Regions from separate parts of the Homo sapiens genome. Here regions 1 and 2 are each linked to region 3. Evidence: promoter capture Hi-C in 16 types of primary human blood cells and fetal thymus (Javierre and others, 2016). All regions are on one chromosome and are shown on one strand. Each heading gives the region's core, a stretch centred on a gene start or on the middle of the fragment in contact. The rest is flanking DNA. Distances are from core to core; before and after follow the strand shown.

What was found. Contacts are between HindIII fragments. The CHiCAGO score rates a contact against its expected background, and 5 or more counts as called.
Region 1: a contact is called between the fragment with the promoter of KLHL7 here and the fragment with the promoter of IL6 in region 3, in 11 of 17 cell types (M2 macrophages, M1 macrophages, total CD4 T cells and 8 more). The highest score is 10.2, in M2 macrophages.
Region 2: a contact is called between a fragment that was not itself captured here and the fragment with the promoter of IL6 in region 3, in 1 of 17 cell types (total B cells). The highest score is 5.4, in total B cells.

Annotation. Positions count from the first base shown.
Region 1 is chr7:23,104,171-23,107,335 of GRCh38, forward strand. It overlaps KLHL7 (kelch like family member 7), which reads left to right and starts at 1,615. Exons shown (of 11, transcript NM_001031710.3): 1 at 1,615-1,976. The coding sequence starts at 1,857. KLHL7-DT (KLHL7 divergent transcript) reads right to left here and starts at 1,533. Exons shown (of 3, transcript NR_046220.1): 1 at 1,389-1,533; 2 at 80-147. RefSeq lists enhancers at 803-1,789, 1,412-1,601, 1,722-2,001, 1,790-2,776, 2,482-2,561. The HindIII fragment of the contact is 5,093 bases long and covers 1-2,744 here.
Region 2 is chr7:22,997,068-22,999,958 of GRCh38, forward strand. All of the region lies in intron 1 of HYCC1 (hyccin PI4KA lipid kinase complex subunit 1), which reads right to left. Among named protein-coding and RNA genes, the nearest start is that of HYCC1, 16 kb to the right of the region's middle. The HindIII fragment of the contact is 1,900 bases long and covers 317-2,216 here.
Region 3 is chr7:22,725,856-22,728,630 of GRCh38, forward strand. IL6 (interleukin 6) reads left to right here and starts at 1,345. Exons shown (of 5, transcript NM_000600.5): 1 at 1,345-1,426; 2 at 1,589-1,779. The coding sequence starts at 1,408. It overlaps IL6-AS1 (IL6 antisense RNA 1), which reads right to left and starts at 1,765. Exons shown (of 2, transcript NR_131935.1): 1 at 1,713-1,765; 2 at 1-850. RefSeq lists a silencer at 760-809 and an enhancer at 795-1,994. The HindIII fragment of the contact is 10,105 bases long and covers 1-2,775 here.

The DNA of each region.
Region 1 (3,165 bases), core at 365-2,864, 380 kb after region 3:
CTAACATCAAGGACTAAGGATGCTGTTCCTCGTTTCTTTTTTGCCTTATTACAGGACAGCATTCTTTTTCATCACTTACATTTCTGCCTTTGAATCACGGATCCTTCATCTCCCAAGGCCTTAGAGTTAGAAGACAGATTTCTACTTCTTTTCAATTAAAAAAAAAAGAAAAAAATTTATTCCGTTTTTCTTCAGTGTCCTGGGTCATTTAATAAAGTGAATGAAAAATTTTCTCATTTATAATTTTATTAACAATAAATTATTCCTATTGCCAGGGTTCACCTGAAATCCCCAAATCAACTAGTTAAAATAGAGGCACATCTGAGAACCTCTAGATTAATAGAAGAAAGATAAAGAGTACAGAGACATAAGTATCTTACTCTTTTGTAAAAATTGAGGCGTATATATAGCTTGCTCTTTCATCTGGATTATGCTATATGGTTTGTCCTCAACAAGAAAAGTATACTGTGGGCCAGGCCTGGCCGCTCATTCCTGTAATCCCAGCACTTTGGGAGGCCTAGGCGGGAGGATTGCATAACACCAGGAGTTCGAGACAAGCCTGGGCAACATAGTGTGACCTCTTCACCACCACCACCACCACCACCACCACCACCAAAAAAATTTAAAAATTAAAACTTAGCCCAGAGTGGTGTTGCACGCCTGTAGTTTCAGCTACTTGGGAGGCTGAGATGGGAGGATTGCTTGAGCCCAGGAGTGCTGAGGCTTCAGTGAGCTATGATTAGCCACTGCACCGCACCCCCAGCCTGGGCGACAGGGCCGAGACCCTGCCTCCAAAAAAAAAAAAAAAAGCCTCAATGGTGTAAATTATTTTACATAAAATGTCTCTGTATAGTCCTATATAGACCGAGGAGGAAAACCAATGAGATATAAAGTTTTCATAATGTTAAATAATGTACAATTTCAAATAATCCTGTATATTACTATACAGTAGAAAGAATATGGTTACAAAAAACATTTCCATGAGGGCTGTGATTGAGTTCCGTGTTCCCGTAAAACACTTAGAGAAGCCTAACTGAAGATTTCTAGAACCGACTGACAACTGATTTCAGTTGTAAACACACAGTAAGCCAGCCTAGTTAGGCAGACATTCATTGCACGCCAAGGAGACACCAACGGGACTGTGTGCTCTTGCGTTATGAATCCCACGAAAATAAATCTTGTGCTCCGTGTAACATGACTTTAACTTGCAGTAATATCCTTTCATCATTTAATATTTATTGAGCGCCTACCATACACCAGGCTCAGATACTGCACTGAACACCGACCCTGTCCCATGAAGCCTTACACTGATGGGAGACACCTTTGCATGTTCCACAACCCAATTATCAAAAAAAAAAAAAAAAAAAAGATAATCACGTAACCGAAACCTGGAAATCTGCCTTGGGCACACAAAAGAGCAGGCGCGACCTCGGACCAGCTCCGAGGCAAAATTCACTCAGCGCGGGACAGCGACAGGGAATCCGGCCGCACCTGTGCCTGCAGTCTCATTGCTCGGAACGGCGCGCCACTGTGACGTGTCAGGCCCCGCCCCTGACTCTCCTCATAGTGCCCCCGCCTCCTTGCGCGAAGTGCGCAGGCTCCTGGGCAGGGCTCGGGTTCTGCCCGGGGACGCAGCCCAGTTGGTAGCGTCGCTCCCTGAGCGTTTCTAAGGGGGCCGCCCGGCCTTGTCTTTCGGCAGTGGCCGAGCCACCGCCGCCTGCCGCGCGTTCCAGAGCTGGGCGCTGCAGCTGCACTGCCGATCGCCGTGTTTGGTCGATAGAATCCCCAGTGTGCCCAGAGAGTGCGACCCCTCGCCCGGCCCGGCGAGCCCCGGGCGTGAACCGAGCTGAGGGAGGATGGCAGCCTCTGGGGTGGAGAAGAGCAGCAAGAAGAAGACCGAGAAGAAACTTGCTGCTCGGGAAGAAGCTAAATTGTTGGCGGGTTTCATGGGCGTCATGAATAACATGCGGAAACAGGTACCGCCTCTGTGGGAGTGACGGACGACGGTGGGAGGTGGTCCGGGGCTCGGGCCCCTGGTTCCCGGGGTGGAACCCCGCGCCCTGTGGATCGCGCCCCTCTTTCTCTGTCCTCGCCCCTCCTTCCGTTTTCGCAGGCGAGCGATTCCGCAGTTGGTAGAGGGGCGCGTAAAACAATTCTCGAGCAAAAGTGCTTCTCGTCTGCCGAGGATGTAGCTCCCAAGTCAGACTCCTGGGGGACTCCTCAGGCTGGCTTTCGCCGTCGGGTATCGGTTGTGTAACAGCTCTGCCCTAGTTATCTCTTTGTGGGGCGAGGATCCTTCCATTGGCGAGCCGTTTTAAGGTGCCGTGAGATCTTGTGTGAAGAAACCCGTTGGCATAGCCCAAACCGAAGCCCCCAAAGGGAGGAGAGTTGCTGGCCTGACATCAGCTGCTCTTAAATAAGGATCCCCGCCCCCTCCTGTGTTCCCCGGTGGAGCTAGTTGAAGAGGAGTCCTCCTGTTCGTGCTAATTTAGAGCAGAAGCAGCCATCGATAAATACCATGCCATCTTCTAAGGGCACTGTGCGCCTCTGTTATTAAGAGGAGCTCTTTGTTCTGTCCTTGGTGTGTGGTGCATTCGTGAAATTCTGCAGCACATCGGCGAAAGGTGGGTTATGAAAAGAACGGATTTTAACGCTGGCGAAGGTGAAACAAAGAGGCTTTTTTTTTTTTTAATTCCATAACATCTACACCGATAAGCATAGAAAGTCACTTTTTCCTTTCTGTAAGCTTTATTTATAGATAATACACATCTAAGTAGATTTGTGGGAATGTTTGGGTTTTGTTGACTGGGATCCTGTTTCAAGGGGACAAAGCAGGATGTGAGTTATGTGTAACTGCAAAACCTAGTTTGCTTTGTCTGGTGGTTCTGCTGGGAATATGGGCAACAGTAGAGGAATTTAAGATTTTTATGAAGATATTAACTTCTGGTTTCTATAAGCAAACGCTGACTGCTGGGATTTTGTCTTTGTTCACCAGCTCCTGCTACAGTGCACCAGTGCAGTCTGTGGGAATGCTTTTAAATCTTTCCTGGCCTGGCCTTTGTGCTGAAGTACTGTGAATGCCTGAATTCGTTAATTTATGTAACTGACTTTCATGTATCTATTTTCAAATTCATGTTCCTTTCATGTAAACCTTTTTGTATCTAC
Region 2 (2,891 bases), core at 17-2,516, 270 kb after region 3:
CAATAAGTCTGTATAACATTAATTTTTTATATTTTCAATGTACAATAAAACCTTTCTAAGTCAAATGTCTTATTCTTCAATTCCCACATTATGTTATTAATAACAATTACCAAAATTTATCTTTTAGTGTTGTCATCAGAGACATATAACATTTTAATTATTTTATAAGAATATTTTAAAAGTATTTGTAACTTTCACTGTAAAACTCTAAAAATTTCCTTATTCCTATCTTTTACATCATCCCCTTCACCATTAAGCACTAACGACAAACTACTATAAAACTTTTTATAACCATTTGTTTTATATATCATTATGAAGCTTAAGTTTCTATAAATTTATAGAGCAACCAAATTTCTATAAATGGATTGTGACACATCACGAAATTTTAAACTTCTCTCCTATGCAATGAGGCCATTGCTGTAGTTAAATTAAGCGCTACCAGAAGATTATCAAGAATTCCTGGGTGAATTTCAGGAAAACAGAATGGAGAGAAATGTTCAGATTATGTTACAGAATAAAATTAATTTAATTTTAGGATTTTGCTGCTTAGAAACTGACCAATCAATTGTGAAGGAGGACAGTATATGTGCTGTTGCTTAAAAAGAAGTGTTGATGCCTCACTGCCTACCTAGGTCATCAAGTAAATAAAGCTGCCTCTCAAGGCACCAGGAGAAGTAATATAATTCATAGTAAGAGAGGTTTGGGAAGTCTTTCCAAAGGCCTATTACTTAGGCCTATTTTCCCCAAAAATCACAAAACAAGTGTCTGATTATCAAGAATAGAACATAGGTTTTTACTCTATAAAATGGTTTTTGGCTAAACCATCTTTTGCCTACCCCAAGGACAAATAAGATCATGTTGGGATATCAGTGTGCTGTGGCAACCAGCCCAGTGTGTTTCTGTTGGAAAAGCTAGAACAATTAGAAGGTAAGAAGTTCTTTCTTCTCATTTCCCATTTCTATCTTCCTGTTCTTCTCAGATCCTCCATGACTTCAGACAAGATCAGGCACGTTCAAGGTGGTATGGTCATAGACAAGATCCTCCAGGACTTCAGAAGAACATTTTTTCCAGGGAAAGGATATCTGATTTGGACTCTAATAAGAGAAGTTAGGAAGAACTATTTTTTAATAACCATGTTGACCAAAAGAATGCAGCAAACAGAATGCTATGAAACTTCTGAGGCCAACAGTTACTGCTCTTGGATTTCTATTGCAAATATTCTCCCTCTTTTTTGAGCCAGCATTCAAATAGCCTTGACTAAGATCATGTACAATTTATTAACAATTTAGATTTCTTTTAGATAAGAGCAGACAGAATGGTGAGATCTCTGGGAACTATGGCACTACGATGAGCACTTCTTATTGACATTAACATAGCACATGACTCAGTGGTTCAACATTTTTTAAAATTTTTTTCAAATAAAAATTATATAACATAATTTTTAAGTTTTAAACTGTATTAGTAACTACAGGCAAATTTCAGTCCAGATACTATAAGCATAAGTAACATACAGCAAGTATCTAATAAATATTTATTGAATAGAAGAATAAATTTCACCCTTTATAATGCCCGTCAAATTTACCATCTGCTCTCCATCTCCACAGCAACGCCCTGAGTCTGGGCCCTTATTTCCTCTGCATCTGCTGATCACACAGCCTTCTGGCTCCTGATTTCTTCCCTTTTCCAGTGCACCATGCATGTTGCTGCCATATAATCTTGCTGAAACTTCTTTTCTCCTGAACACACCATGACATCAGACCTCACAAATCTTCTACATCAAACTTTCCCTAAAATATGGTCATAATTTACCTATCCAAATTTTACTTAACACTATTCTCCAAAATAATCCATGCCACTCCAGGCTCCATGTCTTTGCCTATGCTTCTCTTCTCTACCTTCCTTTCACTCCTCAGCTTTTACACCCTACCTAGGAAAAACTTGGGGCTCTTATTAATGAAATGCATGCATTGGCAAGGTAAGCTGCCAGGAGAGAACTGGCACTGCATCTGTGAACCAAAACAGCATCATCTGATTATTTTAAAGACTGATTGATGCAGATAATCTTGACTTAGAAAACCTCTTATTAGAATGTTATAAGAAATCTTAAAAGTCCATTAATATGTTATGTATTTCACTAAATATAAAAATATCACAAACAAATTATTTTACATTTAATATTGGGTAAAAATCTACAAGAGCAGTTATTGCTGAAATAAAGCTTTCCAAAATGTTTGCACCACCTTTTACAAAATATAATTACAGCACATACTAAGTGATTCAAGTATTACCTCAGTGAATCAAACTTCAGTAAGCCCTGATAACTAACATACAAATGATAAAGTTTATGTTAACAGATTTTAAGAGATCAGTGTAAAAGTGCTGAACTATAATAATTACCTCAATCACATTCATTAACATGATTATCACACAATTGCATATTAAATAACATGGTGATTAGAAATGCTTTCTACATATTCACTGAACAGGATGTCAAGTCGACAGCCCGTTCATATAATTTATCCAGACAGTAGGCTGGGCAGAGTCAGAGTAAGAGCAAAGAAACAGAAGTAGCAAAAACAAACATAGAATGGGAGGTCGTATATGCAAAAAGTCAATACTAGTATATGTTCAAATTGCAACATTAATAATTCAGCAAGCCCTTGATTGCCTGCTGAGTATAATGCAAAGTGTTTCTATTAGTTTGCACCATTAGCAAAAGAATAGTAAAATATGATCTGTGTCCTCAAGGCAATTGTAATCCAGATGGCAAAGGAAAAGCAGGGAATAGACGAGAGGAAAATAAGTCAAGGTAGCACCTTACATTTTCTAGACGAATAATTGCAAGGGCCATCATGAGAAAATTATCAGAAATACACAAAATCAACAATGAA
Region 3 (2,775 bases), core at 95-2,594:
CTTAGCAAAGCAAAGAAACCGATTGTGAAGGTAACACCATGTTTGGTAAATAAGTGTTTTGGTGTTGTGCAAGGGTCTGGTTTCAGCCTGAAGCCATCTCAGAGCTGTCTGGGTCTCTGGAGACTGGAGGGACAACCTAGTCTAGAGCCCATTTGCATGAGACCAAGGATCCTCCTGCAAGAGACACCATCCTGAGGGAAGAGGGCTTCTGAACCAGCTTGACCCAATAAGAAATTCTTGGGTGCCGACGCGGAAGCAGATTCAGAGCCTAGAGCCGTGCCTGCGTCCGTAGTTTCCTTCTAGCTTCTTTTGATTTCAAATCAAGACTTACAGGGAGAGGGAGCGATAAACACAAACTCTGCAAGATGCCACAAGGTCCTCCTTTGACATCCCCAACAAAGAGGTGAGTAGTATTCTCCCCCTTTCTGCCCTGAACCAAGTGGGCTTCAGTAATTTCAGGGCTCCAGGAGACCTGGGGCCCATGCAGGTGCCCCAGTGAAACAGTGGTGAAGAGACTCAGTGGCAATGGGGAGAGCACTGGCAGCACAAGGCAAACCTCTGGCACAGAGAGCAAAGTCCTCACTGGGAGGATTCCCAAGGGGTCACTTGGGAGAGGGCAGGGCAGCAGCCAACCTCCTCTAAGTGGGCTGAAGCAGGTGAAGAAAGTGGCAGAAGCCACGCGGTGGCAAAAAGGAGTCACACACTCCACCTGGAGACGCCTTGAAGTAACTGCACGAAATTTGAGGATGGCCAGGCAGTTCTACAACAGCCGCTCACAGGGAGAGCCAGAACACAGAAGAACTCAGATGACTGGTAGTATTACCTTCTTCATAATCCCAGGCTTGGGGGGCTGCGATGGAGTCAGAGGAAACTCAGTTCAGAACATCTTTGGTTTTTACAAATACAAATTAACTGGAACGCTAAATTCTAGCCTGTTAATCTGGTCACTGAAAAAAAATTTTTTTTTTTTCAAAAAACATAGCTTTAGCTTATTTTTTTTCTCTTTGTAAAACTTCGTGCATGACTTCAGCTTTACTCTTTGTCAAGACATGCCAAAGTGCTGAGTCACTAATAAAAGAAAAAAAGAAAGTAAAGGAAGAGTGGTTCTGCTTCTTAGCGCTAGCCTCAATGACGACCTAAGCTGCACTTTTCCCCCTAGTTGTGTCTTGCCATGCTAAAGGACGTCACATTGCACAATCTTAATAAGGTTTCCAATCAGCCCCACCCGCTCTGGCCCCACCCTCACCCTCCAACAAAGATTTATCAAATGTGGGATTTTCCCATGAGTCTCAATATTAGAGTCTCAACCCCCAATAAATATAGGACTGGAGATGTCTGAGGCTCATTCTGCCCTCGAGCCCACCGGGAACGAAAGAGAAGCTCTATCTCCCCTCCAGGAGCCCAGCTATGAACTCCTTCTCCACAAGTAAGTGCAGGAAATCCTTAGCCCTGGAACTGCCAGCGGCGGTCGAGCCCTGTGTGAGGGAGGGGTGTGTGGCCCAGGGAGGGCTGGCGGGCGGCCAGCAGCAGAGGCAGGCTCCCAGCTGTGCTGTCAGCTCACCCCTGCGCTCGCTCCCCTCCGGCACAGGCGCCTTCGGTCCAGTTGCCTTCTCCCTGGGGCTGCTCCTGGTGTTGCCTGCTGCCTTCCCTGCCCCAGTACCCCCAGGAGAAGATTCCAAAGATGTAGCCGCCCCACACAGACAGCCACTCACCTCTTCAGAACGAATTGACAAACAAATTCGGTACATCCTCGACGGCATCTCAGCCCTGAGAAAGGAGGTGGGTAGGCTTGGCGATGGGGTTGAAGGGCCCGGTGCGCATGCGTTCCCCTTGCCCCTGCGTGTGGCCGGGGGCTGCCTGCATTAGGAGGTCTTTGCTGGGTTCTAGAGCACTGTAGATTTGAGGCCAACGGGGCCGACTAGACTGACTTCTGTATTTATCCTTTGCTGGTGTCAGGAAGTTCCTTTCCTTTCTGGAAAATGCAGAATGGGTCTGAAATCCATGCCCACCTTTGGCATGAGCTGAGGGTTATTGCTTCTCAGGGCTTCCTTTTCCCTTTCCAAAAAATTAGGTCTGTGAAGCTCCTTTTTGTCCCCCGGGCTTTGGAAGGACTAGAAAAGTGCCACCTGAAAGGCATGTTCAGCTTCTCAGAGCAGTTGCAGTACTTTTTGGTTATGTAAACTCAATGGCTAGGATTCCTCAAAGCCATTCCAGCTAAGATTCATACCTCAGAGCCCACCAAAGTGGCAAATCATAAATAGGTTAAAGCATCTCCCCACTTTCAATGCAAGGTATTTTGGTCCTGTTTGGTAGAAAGAAAAGAACACAGGAGGGGAGATTGGGAGCCCACACTCGAATTCTGGTTCTGCCAAACCAGCCTTGTGATCTTGGGTAAATTCCCTACCACCTCTGGACTCCATCAGTAAAATTGGGCGTGGACTAGGTGATCTCATAGATCCTTCCTGCTGGAACATTCTATGGCTTGAATTATATTCTCCTAATTATTGTCAAAATTGCTGTTATTAAGTATCTACTGTGTGCCAGGCACTTTAAATAAATATTGTGTCTAATCTTCAAAACAAATTTGCAAGGAAGGTTTTTGGAGATAAGGAAACTGAGACTCAGGATTAAGTAACACACCTAAAGTCACAGGTGAGCTTGGAACTGAACCCAAGTGTGCCCCCACTCCACTGGAATTTGCTTGCCAGGATGCCAATGAGTTGTAGCTTCATTTTTCTTAGAGACTTTCCTGGCTGTGGTTGAACAATGAAAAGG